3 separate regions of the Homo sapiens genome follow, and all the other regions are linked to region 1. The links are contacts of gene promoters, found by promoter capture Hi-C in human tissues and cell types (Jung and others, 2019). All regions are on one chromosome and are shown on one strand. The core of a region is centred on a gene start or on the middle of the fragment in contact, and the rest is flanking DNA. Distances in the headings are between cores, read along the strand shown. Region 1 holds the start of RAB15 (RAB15, member RAS oncogene family). Region 2 has its middle 290 kb from the start of LINC02290. Region 3 has its middle 190 kb from the start of LINC02290.

The links. Contacts are between HindIII fragments. The study calls those that stand out against the background at their distance.
Region 2: a contact is called between a fragment that was not itself captured here and the fragment with the promoter of RAB15 in region 1, in 1 of the 25 tissues and cell types used here (dorsolateral prefrontal cortex).
Region 3: a fragment that was not itself captured here is called in contact with the fragment with the promoter of RAB15 in region 1 in 1 of the 25 tissues and cell types used here (small bowel).

The regions. Positions count from the first base shown.
Region 1 is chr14:64,971,081-64,975,727 of GRCh38, forward strand. RAB15 (RAB15, member RAS oncogene family) reads right to left here and starts at 1,256. Exons shown (of 7, transcript NM_001308154.2): 1 at 873-1,256. The coding sequence starts at 996. The region is part of intron 3 of CHURC1-FNTB (CHURC1-FNTB readthrough); the gene reads left to right. RefSeq lists a silencer at 1,049-1,418 and an enhancer at 3,593-4,370. The HindIII fragment of the contact is 7,421 bases long and covers 1-4,647 here.
Region 2 is chr14:65,824,086-65,828,605 of GRCh38, forward strand. No RefSeq gene overlaps it. Among named protein-coding and RNA genes, the nearest start is that of LINC02290, 290 kb to the right of the region's middle. The HindIII fragment of the contact is 4,796 bases long and covers 1-4,481 here.
Region 3 is chr14:65,920,591-65,925,133 of GRCh38, forward strand. No RefSeq gene overlaps it. Among named protein-coding and RNA genes, the nearest start is that of LINC02290, 190 kb to the right of the region's middle. The HindIII fragment of the contact is 3,337 bases long and covers 477-3,813 here.

The DNA.
Region 1 (4,647 bases), core at 6-2,505:
ATTCCCTCTACTCAGACTTCTCAGGGAGGGGGCCCCTCACAGCCTAGAAGCGGGAGACTGACTGTCTCAGAGGGGAGGCCATGGACCCATTCCTAGAATAAGTGACCCCATCATAGTGCTGTCTGGGATGCCACCGGGTCTTGTCCCTCTAACCACAGGCTCCAGCACTGCCAGATGAGAGATGCCCTCAGGCGGGTCCTGCCTGCCTTCTGACCCCTTGGTCTGGGCAGGTATTCCTGACACTCCTCCATCCTCTTTAGCCTCCCTCAGAACAGATGTCTCCTCTTCCCAGGCGCAGGGGCTCCTCACCCTATCTGTGTCCTCCCCCAGGTGTCCCACCTTGCGGCTTACCTTCCCAACTCTGCCCTGGAAACTCGATCCCTGTGGCCCCTCCGTACGTCCTCTCTTCCCCCCCTCGCCCCCCGCCGGCTCCACCTTGGGTCACCACAGAACCAAGGGCGCCTCAGTGACTCCGGTCTCCACCCTGACCCCCTTTTCCGTAGCAGAAGCTTTACTTCCCCTCCCCCTGGGGGTGTGGGGATGTTATTCCAGCGGCTACGATTCTTGCTACCCCAGCTCGGGGTACCCAGGCCTACACCAGCTCCCCTCACCCCCGGTTTCTCGGTTTGATGGGACGGAAGGCTTCCCGGCAAGAGGCGGGAGACCCCACCCCTGGTCCGGACGGCAGGCAGCAGGGACACCCTCACCTGCCAAAACCTATGCTCACCCCGAGATTTATCCCGGACTCCGGCCTCCGGCGCCACCGCCTCCAGCCGGAGGGGCTGGCAATTCCTCCCCAGCTGGGGACGGGGGCGGCGGGGAAAGGGGCCGCGGGCGGGGAGGGAGGGGCGCCCCGGGCCACCGCCCCTTACCGATGGTGGAGATGTGCGAGGAGTGGAACTCGTTGTCGGTGAAGCGGCACAGCAGGCAGGTCTTGCCCACCCCGGAGTCCCCGATCAGCAGCAGCCGGAACAGCACATCGTACTGCTTCGCCATGACTGGGGCCAGCGGGGCCGGGAACTGCGGGCGGGCAGCGGGCTCAGCCCTGCTCCGCCGCTGCCATCGCGGCCCGCGCCCGCCCGGGGACGCTGCGGGCGGCGAGGAGGACGCCGGGCCCGGCCCCCGCGGCTGCCTCGCCCGCCCGCCTGCCCACTCGCTCGCTGGGTGCCGGGAAGCGCGGCTGCGGCGGGAGCCCGGCGCGGCGCCCGCTCGGCTCGGCTCGGCTCGGCTGGGCTGGCGCGAGGCGGTGGGAGGAGAAACCGGCGGCGGCCCCTGCCCGCCCCTTCCCCTGCGCCGCCGCCGCCGCCCCGGAGAGAGGGGGCGGGGAGCGCGCGCAGGAGAGCGGGACCCCATCGAGCAGGCGACGCTGGGGCGGGGCGCCAGCCCCCCCTCCCAACCCCTTCCTGCCCGGGGCGGGGGAACGTTTTCGTTTTTCCGCGGACGCTCCGAATGGGGGAGTTGAGGTGAGCCCCCACCCAGCCCACTTCTACCGTGCTCCGCTTTCCGGGCTCACCACTTCTCCCCATATCCCACCCCAAGTCTGGCGCCGGTAATTCCGCCCGCCGTGGCACCCTGCATCTGCAGGATCTGGCCGGGCTCCCCAGTGGCTGGTACCTCAGCTGGGCTCACCCGAGGTAGGAAGGCCTTGAGCAGGATCTGGATTCGAACACCCGTCTCCATGAGTCCCCGAGAGTGTGGGTGGAATTCCCCCTCCCTGCCATCTGGCTGCCCCTTACCTGTGTGACTGTGTCACGGCCCTCCCCCGTCCCCATTTTTTCTTTAAATGGGGAAAATGCCTATTCACGGCCTCCACCAGGGTGAAAAGATAGATGGCCATAAGAACATCTCCAAGTGCAAAATCCTTTAGAGGTGTGCGGGCAAGTCTCCGTTTTCCCTCTAAGGTGCTTAGGATAGGTGCCCAGGTGACCAATGTATTGTTTCAGACCCCTAAATTTCTCTGTGGTATAGCCAGTGGCACCAAAGAATGAATGGCCCTTGTTCAAGATCCAGTTTCCTACCACTGAATGTGTTAGCACCGGAGAGAGGCAAATGAATGCTCTCCGGAGTTGAGAAAATTGCCTATCCCTACCAACGAGTATTGAGGGAGAGCAAAGTCTAGCCTATTAGGTCTTTAAAAAGCAATGAAAGGCTAGGCGCGTTGGCTCATGCCTGTAATCCCAGTACTTTGGGAGGCTGAGGCGGGCAGATCACTTTGAGGTCAGGAGCTGGAGACCAGCCTGGCCAATGTAGTGAAACCCAGTCTCTACTAAAAATAAAAAAAAATTAGCTGGGCACGGTGGCTCGCCTGTAATCCCAGGCTTGAGAGGCTGAGGTGGGAGGATTGCTTGAACCCATTAGGGGAAGGCTGCAGTGAGCCGAGATCATGACACTGCACTCCAGCCTGCGCAACAGAGGGAGACCTTGTCTCAAAAAAAAAAAAAAAAAAGCAATGAAAAGTATATATGTACATACCTGTTTTCAGGCTGAATATTGGATGGAGAATGTATTTTTCAATAGTAGGTCAAGGAAAGTGGTAAGCCCATTTACTTCATTTGAAAAGGTATATTTCAGGTTAAGTGTCTGAATTATAATAAGAGGGGAAAAGTTCAAGACCAGCCTGGCCAACATGGTGAAACCCCATCTCTACTAAAAATATAAAAAAATTAGCTGGGCGTGGTGGCCGGTGCCTGTAATCCCAGCTACTCGGGAGGCTGAGGCAGGAGAATTGCTTGAACCTGAGAGGCGAAGGTTGCGGTGAGCCGAGATTGCGCCATTGCACTCCAGCCTGGGCAACAAGAGCAAAACTCTGTCTCAAAAAAAAAAAAAAAAAAAAGCCGGGGGGCGAAATCCCGAGCCTGCTAGCTACTCTGATTACACAGAAAGCTAAAGGAACTGATGTAGTGGATTCCATTATTTCGAGGTGCGCGTCTCCACAGTGGGCTTACATGGGGTTTCAGGTGCATGCCAAGGGCTCTGGAGTAAGGCACACTTGGGTTCCAGTCCCAGTGTCACCACTCACCAGCTGTGCAATCTTGAGCACATTACTGAACCCCCCTGTGACTCAGTTTCCTCATCTCAAAATAGGATATTTAGAGTGACTACCTTACAGGATTGCTGGAAAGATGAAATAAGATAATGCATGGAAAGGACAGGCCGTCGCGGTAGCTCACGCCTGTAATCCCAGCACTTTGGGAGGCCGAGGCGGGCGGATCACGAGGTCAGGAGACCATCCTGGCTAACATGGTGAAACCCCGTCTCTACTAAAAATACAAAAAATTAGCCCGGCGTGGTGGCGGGCGCCTGTAGTCCCAGCTACTTGGGAGGCTGAGGCAGGAGAATGGCGTGAACCCGGGAGGCGGAGCTTGCAGTAAGCCGAGATCACGCCACTGCACTCCAGCATGGGTGACAGAGCGAGACTCCGTCAGAAAAAAGAAAAAAAAAGAAAGGACAGCATAACACTTGACCCAGCACTCAATAAAGCAGAGGTGCAGAAAACACCCTGTAATGTTTCCCCTGTGCATCCCGGGTGGTAAGAATATCCCACAGATGAATATGGCCAGGGATGTTTTCTAGGAACCGAGGCCCAACCTGCTGTGATTTTCCTCCCACGACCACCAGAGTACCGAGCGCAGATCCAACCCAGCCTGACCCCCTTTGGGCACCGCAGCTGCCTTCCCATTGATCGGCACTGTAATGGTAAATAGCTCTCTGCAGGCCTCCTCACTGGGACCTTTAGTGGCTCTCTGCTTGCTTCTGTCTGAGAAAACAGGAAAGAAAATGCAAGCTGACGTGGATTCCTCACTTCATTTTGAAAGAAATGGCTTTCCCTAGGCAAGACAGGAAAGGGAATGAGGTTTGCTGAAGGAATCCAGAGAAATAAATGTTCATACTCATAAAAAATTGAGCATATGTAGTCATACTGGACTGACCTCAAATTCAGTAGCTTACATTGCTTTAGAAAAAAAAAAAAATGGCTGGGCGCGGTGGCTAACCCCTGTAATCCCAGCACTTTGGGAGGCCGAGGTGGTCAGATCACCTGAGGTCAGGAGTTCGAGACCAGCCTGGCCAACAGGGTAAAACCCCATCTCCACTAATAATGCAAAAATTAGCTGGGCATGGTGGCGCACGCCTGTAATCCCAGCTACTCCGGAGGCTGAGGCAGGAGAATCGCTTGAACCCGGGAAGCAAAGGTTGCAGTGAGCCAAGATCCTGCCATTGCACTCCAACCTGGGCGACAAGAGTGAAACTCTGTCTCAAAAAAAAAAAAAAAAAAAAAAAAAAAAAGGAGTGTATGTAGTCATACTGGACTGACCTCAAATTCAGTAGCTTACATTGCTTTAGAAAAAAAAAAAGACCAGGCGAGGTGGTTCATGCCTGTAATCCCAGCACTTTGGGAGGCCAAGGTAGATGGATCACCTGAGGTCAGGAGTTTGAGACCAGCCTGGCCAACATGGTGAAACCCCATCTCTACTGGAAATACAAAAATTAGCCAGGCCTAGTGGTGGGCGCCTGTTATCCCAGCTACTCGGGAGGCTGAGCCAGGAGAATCGCTTGAACCCAGGAAGTGGAGGTTGCAGTGAGCCGAGATCGTGCCACTGCACTCCAGCCTGGGCGACGGAGCAAGACTCTGTCTCAAAAAAAAAAGAA
Region 2 (4,520 bases), core at 834-3,333, 850 kb after region 1:
ATAATAATAAAAAGCCACTGCTTTTATTGTACTTTTATTTTATAAGTTGATGGAAACATTTCATATACACATTAAGTTTTGTAACCCAATCTTGGTACTTGCTGGGTCCCGGAGGGGCTGTTTCACTACTTGGGACTTCCCTTGTGTTTGCATTATCCCTCCAAGGCAGAAGGAGAAAATGCTTTCACTGAAGCCAGAATAGTGTTTTATTTGAAATAATTCTCATTTAAGGCAAGGCACACACATTCCAAGTGCACATACATGCACACACAGTCTCTCTTATATGGGCTGCATCATAAAATCACAGAGTTTTGGAATTGAAGGGACCTTAGAGATCATCTGTTCTAACACCAGCATGTTACCTATGAGGAAGCTTCTGCCAGACAGGTTAAGTACCTCATCCAAGGTCACAGGCATGTAGTGAAAGAGACCAGGCTACAATTCAGATTCCCTGACTCAAGTCTAATTTTCTTTCTGCTACACCATATTGACTCCAAAATAAGATAATGTATATGAAATCACTTTGAAAACTGAAATGTATTACACAGGTATTCAGTGTGGAGAAGGAGAATTACAATGAGCTTGCTTTCTTCAGAGGTGAGCATGACTTGCTCAGGTCTCTTCCCGGATAAAGTAAGTTCATGGTGTGTGAATCATGAACCGTATTTCTAATTAGGTTTCTGGGTATGGCCTCCAGAAAATGAGCATCAAAGGGGTCAAACCAAAACACAGTCTTCATTCAAGTCCAGCTCGTGTATAGCTCTACTTTTTCTTCCTTCTCACCCTCTCTGTCTGCCTCCCTCTAGTGTCCACCTTTAGTTATTGCATGTGTGCCCCGCAGAAAGGCTGCATGCAGACTACTATCCACCATGTTCACCATTATTTGTTCAAATTACCCCCCTATTTCTTGATATCAGTAGCTGTCATCACGACCAAATTAGGATGCTTTTTATATCAACAGGAATAAATGACTAATATAAAGACCTGGATATTAAGAAAAGTATTTAAAATCGTTTTGTGATTGGAATGATAACACATTCAAAGTTTGGTAATTAAATTGTCTTTAATAGACTTAAATCACATAAGAAGCCCTTATAATTAATTGAAATGTTTTAATTACAAACATAATTATTTTTAAGGTAGAAGGCCTATTAAATTAACTAACACATGATTCATTAAAAAAATTACTGCTTTACATGGAATGCTGTCAATTACTAAATATTATTGCAAATTACTTGAAGGATTAAAATTTTATTTTGGTACTATTAATAGATTAATGTATTAAATCATATAGTGATTATAAATAATATTTAATTAGTCCTATGTTGCCTTCTTTAATATATAGACATATCTATATATCTATATTTATCCCTCAGTCATTGTAACGTGTTCCCTTGAAAGAAACATGTCTAACTTCATATTCTAACTAGGATCCTTGTTAATGTGTAAAATATTGACAAGAACACTCACAACTCATTGGTAGGAGATTCTTTGGTAGCGTTGCCTAAATGCTCTGGATCAAGTAGAACAAATTGGCTGCTAACAAAGCCTGTAAACTATGGATCCCATTTCCTGATCTTAAAAGATCCATTCAAAAGTCTGAACGACATTTACAAGTAAGAGCCTTCCACCATGTTCCCAGCTCTTTTCAGCCTGTGACAAATAGGTCAACGTGCACAGTGAGAAGGGGAACTGTGCATTGTTCTCCTGCCTCATTTCTTGAGTTGGCTGTACCTCCTGCCTTGATCCTTCACCTGTCCCTCCACACTCCTCATTGTCTAGAGATGCACACATGATGCCAAGCACACCCGTGCACACGCACGGGCACACATGCACTCTGAAGGCCAAAAGGCAAGAAGTCATTCAGTTGGATGGCTGTAGCTGGGTCTCAGAGGAGACGGTGTGCAGCTGGAAGCGCCATGCTTGCTGGTTTACTTGCTGCTCAGCAATATGGAGTGCTTTGCCAACAGACTCCTACTGCTTCTTCCCCTCTTGAGGAGAAACTGTCAAACAACACGAGGATAAAAATTAAGCTACAAATAAAAATGTTTACAGCTTTCAATAGAAAGTCAATCCTATTTTAACACTCCAAAAGTATTCTCCAAAAAGTTCAATGACACAAATTGCGAGGGTGATTTATTGCCGGGTGAATGAAATGACCAGATGCCCGCAATCTGAATGGGGCTTTTCAGGGATGCTTTCGGGAGGAGTTTCACTGGACCTCTGAGGTAGGAAGTTGGGGGTGAGTATTGTTTCCACTGCCTATACTTTTTCCTTTACCTTCTTCTGGCGACAGACCTCTCCTTCCTCCCTGTTGGGTGCATGTGTGACCCAGAAGAGACCAGTCACAGCTGCTCTTCCCCAGCCACAGGGGTGAGTCCAGGGACAGACACAAAGCAAGGCAGAGTCCTTCCCCGAAACTGTGCTTTCTTCATGAGTCTATAAGGGCGCAAGTCCAGATCTCTGGTAGCGAAGGAAGCAGTCTTTTAAGGATGTGCAGACCAAGGGAAGAGGCAGGAGTGGCTGCCTAAGAAAGAATGCCCCAGTGCCACCGTCCCCAGGGCCAGTTGCACCCATATTCTTTCTTTGCAGCTTAGGATTCTCTCCCCTTTTTGGCATAAGTTAACTTGAATAGAGTTGCTGTTACTTGCAAGTGAAAGAACCTTAAATAATACAGAAATGACTCCAAGATTTAGGTCAGAAGACACATTAGTGAGGCAGCAGTTGCAAGTGACAAAATTCCGTCTTCAATTAGTTTAAGCATAAAAAATAAAGGATTGGCTTGAGGAACAGAAATGTTCAGGAAAGCCTTCAATTTAGGTTTCCCTGATTCAAGCACTCAGACGATATCTTCAGGATCCCACTGAAGGCGTTCTGGAAATGCCAGCCCCAAATATGCCACTGTGGTGTGCTGATGACTTTGAAGTCAGGGGACTTGGGAAACAGTGATGCAGGCAGAGACTTTCTCTGAGCCCCTTTATCTGCCTAAAGACGGATCCTCCGAAAGGAACTCAATTGTCATGAATCCCCTCCTGGGAATCTTCTCAACTGGGGAAGATTAACTCAGCTCACAGGAAAGAAGAATAGAGGTTGGCACCAGCCCAGGCAGATTGTCACCTCTGCTCCTGAGACAATATTTGTTACCGGAGAGACTTTTATCTGCATAACAAGACAGCCTTTATTCGCACAAATTTCCTCCCCTCACGCTCCCATAACTTGTGTCCCCACCACCCCCCAAAGCCCCAAGCCCCTATTCCTTTCTGTAGCTCAGGATGCTGCATAAGCTTCAATCACTTGGCCCGTCTTCAAGGTTTATTCTGCAGGACTGCCATGCATATGTATATAATTAAACGTGGCTTTTCTCCTGTTACGCTGTCTTATGTCAATTTAATTCATAGCCTAGCCGATGAACCTAGAAGAGTAGAAAGAAACCACTTTTCGCTCCCCTGCACCACTTTTTCTCCAACCCTCTGCTCCGTCTGTCTTCCCCAGTGTTAGTTTTCTTCCCAGGGTGGCTCTCTGGCTTTCTCTGCACATGGTAAATATCTGCCACGTTGCACCCCGCCCCACCTGAGGAACTTCGCGCTTGCAAGGTTCTTAGTTCCCACAAAGCAGAAGGAAAATTCCCCTCCCTCCCCTGACACCCACATCACCCCCAAAGTGAACCAATCACTGAGTCCAGAGGTGTGGGTGCTCCACTTGGTCAGACATGCTCTGGGCCTGACCTGGAGGTGGAGCTACTTTCTCACTGCACAAGCAGGATTTTTGCCATAGAAATGGGAAAAGGATGACCCCCACTGACCCCCACCTCTTTGGGAGAAGATAAAACTTGTGGTAAAGGGAAGATTGAACATAGAATACAAGGAACAGGCAAAGCAGATCAGAAACTATGAAGCAGCAACAGAGGCGGCCGGAAGATAACATGTCAGGCATGCAACCCACTGGCTGCTGAGACACCGGACATCCACAGAGCGTCTGCTGTGCGCGCAGGGCAGCACCAAAACACTGCACGTTTTGGTTGCTGAGCCATCTCCTGAAAGGGAATCAGTGCAGGCAGCTGGCAAAGCAGTTCAAGGTGGTCAAGGGGCGGATGGCAAAGAGGAGGACAAGGTGAACAGCACCAACCAGCCATCCTACATCTGCTCAGCTGGGGTGGCGGCATCCTCCTGGGCACATAGGATGTGAAATCTGCTGGTGGCGTTTTGTTTTTCTCTCCCTTTTGTTTGTTTAATTGACAAGAGTATGTTTCTCTTTCTCTTGGCTTGACTATCGTGAGAAAGGAGGGCGGGCTCAATTAGCTGTAGATGCCTTTCCTGGAGGCCTAGGAGCTGTTTAAAAAGGCACAGGTGTGTGGTGGCTACACGGTATCACCTGGGATTTACTCCCATAAATGGGTCAGGTGTAAAAGAACGGCCGTTAATTAATGCTGATGAGCTGAAGATGCATTGCTTACCCTGACTGCTCAGCATGGAATGTGTGAGTTAATTCCAGGAAATCTAATTACTGAAGTTTCTAGTTTG
Region 3 (4,543 bases), core at 895-3,394, 950 kb after region 1:
ACCTGCTAAATGCACAGTCACTAGCCTGATTTACCTGGCCTCATTTCTGTATGTGTCTGCCTTCTGCACCCTTCCGCGTCATTGACCCCTCCTCATTCCCAATTTCTAAATACTGAATAGGATTTTGAATGTCGTGAGCACTGAATTACCTTCTCTGCAGTAATGCTGTGTGACCTTGGGATGGTCACTCAATCACTTGGTATTTCATTTTTGCTTCCAGCTATAAAACAGGGATAATAATACTGTTCTTGAACAACCAAAATGAGGTGTTCTGACAATCAGTTATGGAAGTGAATGTTTAAAATGAAAGGAAGAAGCCACAAGTTCCTGACTCTCTTGGATATTCCTGGATGTAATCCCCTGAGTCCTGGGCAGGAAGGTGCCGCATAGACACAAGGTAGATGGTGGGGATGCTTATGGTCATTAGCATGGGTACACAGAAAACTCATTGACTCCAGGGCACTGTAGTGAGAATGCACTAGAAGTAGAGTTCCCAAGTTGACTGTCATGGCCATCAAAATGTTTCTAATTTTCCTTACTTAATCCAAGCCAGCAATCTCAAATTTCTTCGTTGGTCATGGAGGAGGGAGATATGATTCAGTCTTGAGGATTTTTGAAGCCTCTAGACTGAGAGGTCTACGTGGGTGGTCCTATGGATTCTATGGATAAAATTAAATGGTTCTGTGAACTTGGGAAAAAATGTCTTTACTAGCCTTTAACTGAAATTAAGTATTTTTCTGTTATTATAAATGTGGGCAAAAAACCCCACAATAGTATTAGCAGTACCTATGTCTTTCTCACTATCAGAAACTGAAGAGATTTTCATGACATTACTATCGTTGCACATACCTTCAAGTATCATTTACACTGATCACTGGTTTGAAACTGCAAAAGTTATTAGACCAGCTGCTAGATCGGGTTAATAAAGAAGCACATGTGTAACAGTATTTCACACATTTGATTAAAAATATTTTTAATTTCAGTGTAATTGGTTTCCATTGAAACCCTATGTATTTGACTTTGTGTATCTAAAAACATTACTCTGGCTGTGTGCGGTGGCTCATGCTTGTAATCCCAGCACTGTGGGAGGCTGAAGCGGGAGGATTGCTTGAGCCCAGGAGTTTGTGACCAACTTGGGCAACATAGGGAGACCTTGTCTCCACAAAAAATTAAAAAAAAAAATTAGCTGAGCATGGTGGCACGTGCCTGTAGTCCCAGCTACTAGGGAGGCTGAGGTGGGAGGATGGCTTGGGCCCAGGAGGTTGAGGCTGCAGTGAGCCATGATTGCACCACTGTACTTCAGCCTGGGCAACAGAGTGAGACACTGTCTCAAAAAAAACCATTATTCTATAAGTGGTCATAGGAGTTCAAGGCACGGAAAGGTTAAGATTGCCTGTCTGCATCTATCTGCTGCCTCTGAGGCAAAAGCTTTGAGCAGGAGACACAGCCCAGGTCTCCCAGTCAGAAGGCCTGGGTCTGAGCCCTGGGTCCATTTCTGTCTAACTGGGGGCTCACTTAGTTTCTATGAGTTACCACCCCCCCAACTTCATTAAAAAGAGATAATAATTTCCCATATGGTTGACGGGAGTGGGAATTAAATGAAATAACAAATGTCAGGATGTTTTGTAAACTGTAAAGCGCTGTGCAAATGCCAGGTATTAATATTCAGTGGTTCCAGGCACTTCTTTTACTTAGCATTTCTAACATCAAGCCAGTAATGACAGAGATGGGGAAAAAAAAAACAACAATCTGGAGGCCAGATGCTTTGTGTGCAAGAAACAGGAGGAGAAAAGTACATTTGTGGCTTGAATTATGGAACATTCATGTGTGTGGTTAAGGATGTAATGAAATCAGATAGATCTGGGTAAAAATCCTTTCTTCTGCTGAGCGTTTCTGGCAAGTTTTTAAAACTCTCTGAACCTTAGTTTGTTCACCTGGAAAATGGGAATTCTAGCTATCTCATAGTGTTACTGGTAAAGATTAAATAATACTTATGCCTATGCCCACACAAAGGGTTTAAGGGCCATGTTTGGATACTTTTCCAAACCCATTGTTTTTTTTAGCAATCTGAGATGGAGCAAATGATAGAGAAAAAAAGAGTACAAGAATTGTAGAATTTCTTCATGAGTTGCAGGTCCAGAAGCTTTAATTTTCAACAATGTGTTTCAGATAAGTTTTACCAAGAATATCTGTAGTGCCCCTGATGAGCTTGACCTTCCTTCCGGTGGGCTGGAGAAAGCTTAAAGCTCTCATGATGCCACTGGTAACCTCACCACACCCTAATTCACATTGCCATCCACGATCGTAGCCACTAGTCACATGTGGATATTTAAGCTTAAATTAACTAAAGCAAAATTTAAAATTCAGTTTCTTAGTTGCACTAGTCACATTTCAGATGCTCAGTAGCCACATGTGGCTAGTGGCTACCACAGAATTGGAGAACATTTCCTTTATTATGCAAATGTCATTGGACAGCACCGTGACTCTGTCTGTGAAGGGCTAAATCTGCCCTGAAAGCGCAGCCTAGACTACAGTGGGTTAAATTTTTTTTTTTTTTTTTTTGAGATGGAGTCTTGCTCTGTTGCCCAGGCTGAGTGCAGTGGCACGATCTCAGCTCACTTCAAACTCCGCCTCTGGGGTTCAAGCAATTCTCCTGTCTCAACCTCCTGAGTAGCTGGGCTACAGGCACATGCCACCACACCTGGCTAATTTTTATATTTTTAGTAGAGACCAGGTTTCACCATATTGGTCAGGCTGGTCTCGAACTCCTGACCTCAGGTGATCCACCCACCTTGGCCTCCCAAAGTGCTGGGATTACAGGCATGAGCCACCATGCCCGGCCTACGGTGGGTTAATTATATAAAACGAGGCAACAAACAACCTGGGATCTACCCTTCCGACACCCTCCAACCTTCCCCACTAACCCTTCTAAATCTTAGCAGGCTCCAGGTATGGAAAGTGCCCACTCAAGGCCTGTTTGCACAGAGCATTGAGCGTGTCTCCAGTGCCCCCAACACCGTTCCTGGACCTCATGATGATTCTCAAGGGATGGTCAATGCAAGAAAAAGGAGCATTCTTTCTGTCAAATCCTGTTCTTCCTCTTCTACTCCTACCCATTTCTTCACAACGTCTCTGATTATTCTCCCAGGGTGGAGCTTCGTCCCCATCCTCTGTAATCTCCCCTACTTCTGGATTTATCTAATTAGAATTTAAATTAGGAAAGGATTGTAGGAAAAGTGGTGATTTCGGTGTGCCTTTTCTCTTTGTGTGTTTCACGGTACAGTAGTCCCCCCTTATCCACAGTTTCACTTTCCCAAGTTTCAGTTACCTTTGGTCAATCATTGAAAATATGAAATGAAAAATTCCAGAAAAAAACAATTCATAAGTTTTAAATTACATGCCATTCCAAGAGTGTGATGAAATCTCCCACTTTCCCTCTCTGTCCTGCCTGGGATTGAATCATTTCTTTGTCTAGCACATCCATGCTCTGCATGTCCCCTCCTACGAATCACTTAGGAGCTGGCTGTTATCTGATCAAGTGTCAAGGTATCGTATAGCTTGTGTTCAAGTCACCCTTATTTTACTTAATAATGGCCCCAAAGCGCAAGAGGTATGATGCTGGCAATTCGGATATGCCAAAGAGAAGCTGTGAAGTGCCTACTTTAAGTGAAAAGGTGAAAGTTCTTGACTTATAAGGAAATTTAAAAAATCATATGCTCAGGTTGCTTAGATATTAAATAAGGATGAATATTCTATCTGAAATTGTGAAAAAGGAAAACGAAATTTGTGCGTAATATATATATATAGGTTTCAATACTATCCATGGTTTCAGTCATCCAGACTAAAACTTAGGCACTTCAGACCCCCAGGATATGGGGGTCTTGGAACATATACGCCATGGATAAGGGGGATTACTGTAGAGGAGAATCTGACACCTACTTCCTTTTTTTTTTTTTAACCTACTTTTTTTTGTTTTTGTTTTTGAGACGGAGTCTTGCTCTGTCGCCCAGGCTGGAGTGCAGTGGCACAATCTCGGCTCACTGCAAACTCCACCTCCCGGATTCAAGTGATTCTCCTGCTTCAGCCTCCCGAGTAGCTGGGACTACAGGTGCACGCCACCATGCCTGGCTAATTTTTTGTGTTTTTCATAGAGATGGTGTTTCACCGTGATAGCCAGGATGGTCTCGATCTCCTGACCTCGTGATCCGCCCACCTCAGCCTCCCAAAGTGCTGGGATTATAGGCATGAGCCACTGCACCCAGCCACCTACTTCCTTTGATAGTGTTACCGGGGGTCCTTGCTCACAGAGCTCCCAAGATGGTGGCGAGCATCTTCCAAGATGGTGGCGGGCCACTTCCAAGATGGTGGCAAGCCTTGTGTTCTCTGACTTGGGGTTCTTGGCCTCATGGATTCCAAGGAATGGAATCTTGGGCCATGCAGTGAGTGTTATAGCTCTATTAGAAGCCGTGGGTCACGGAAGAGAACCGTGGAAGCCAGTGACTAGTGTTCAGCTCGATTAGGATGGACCCGGGCACTTAGCCGT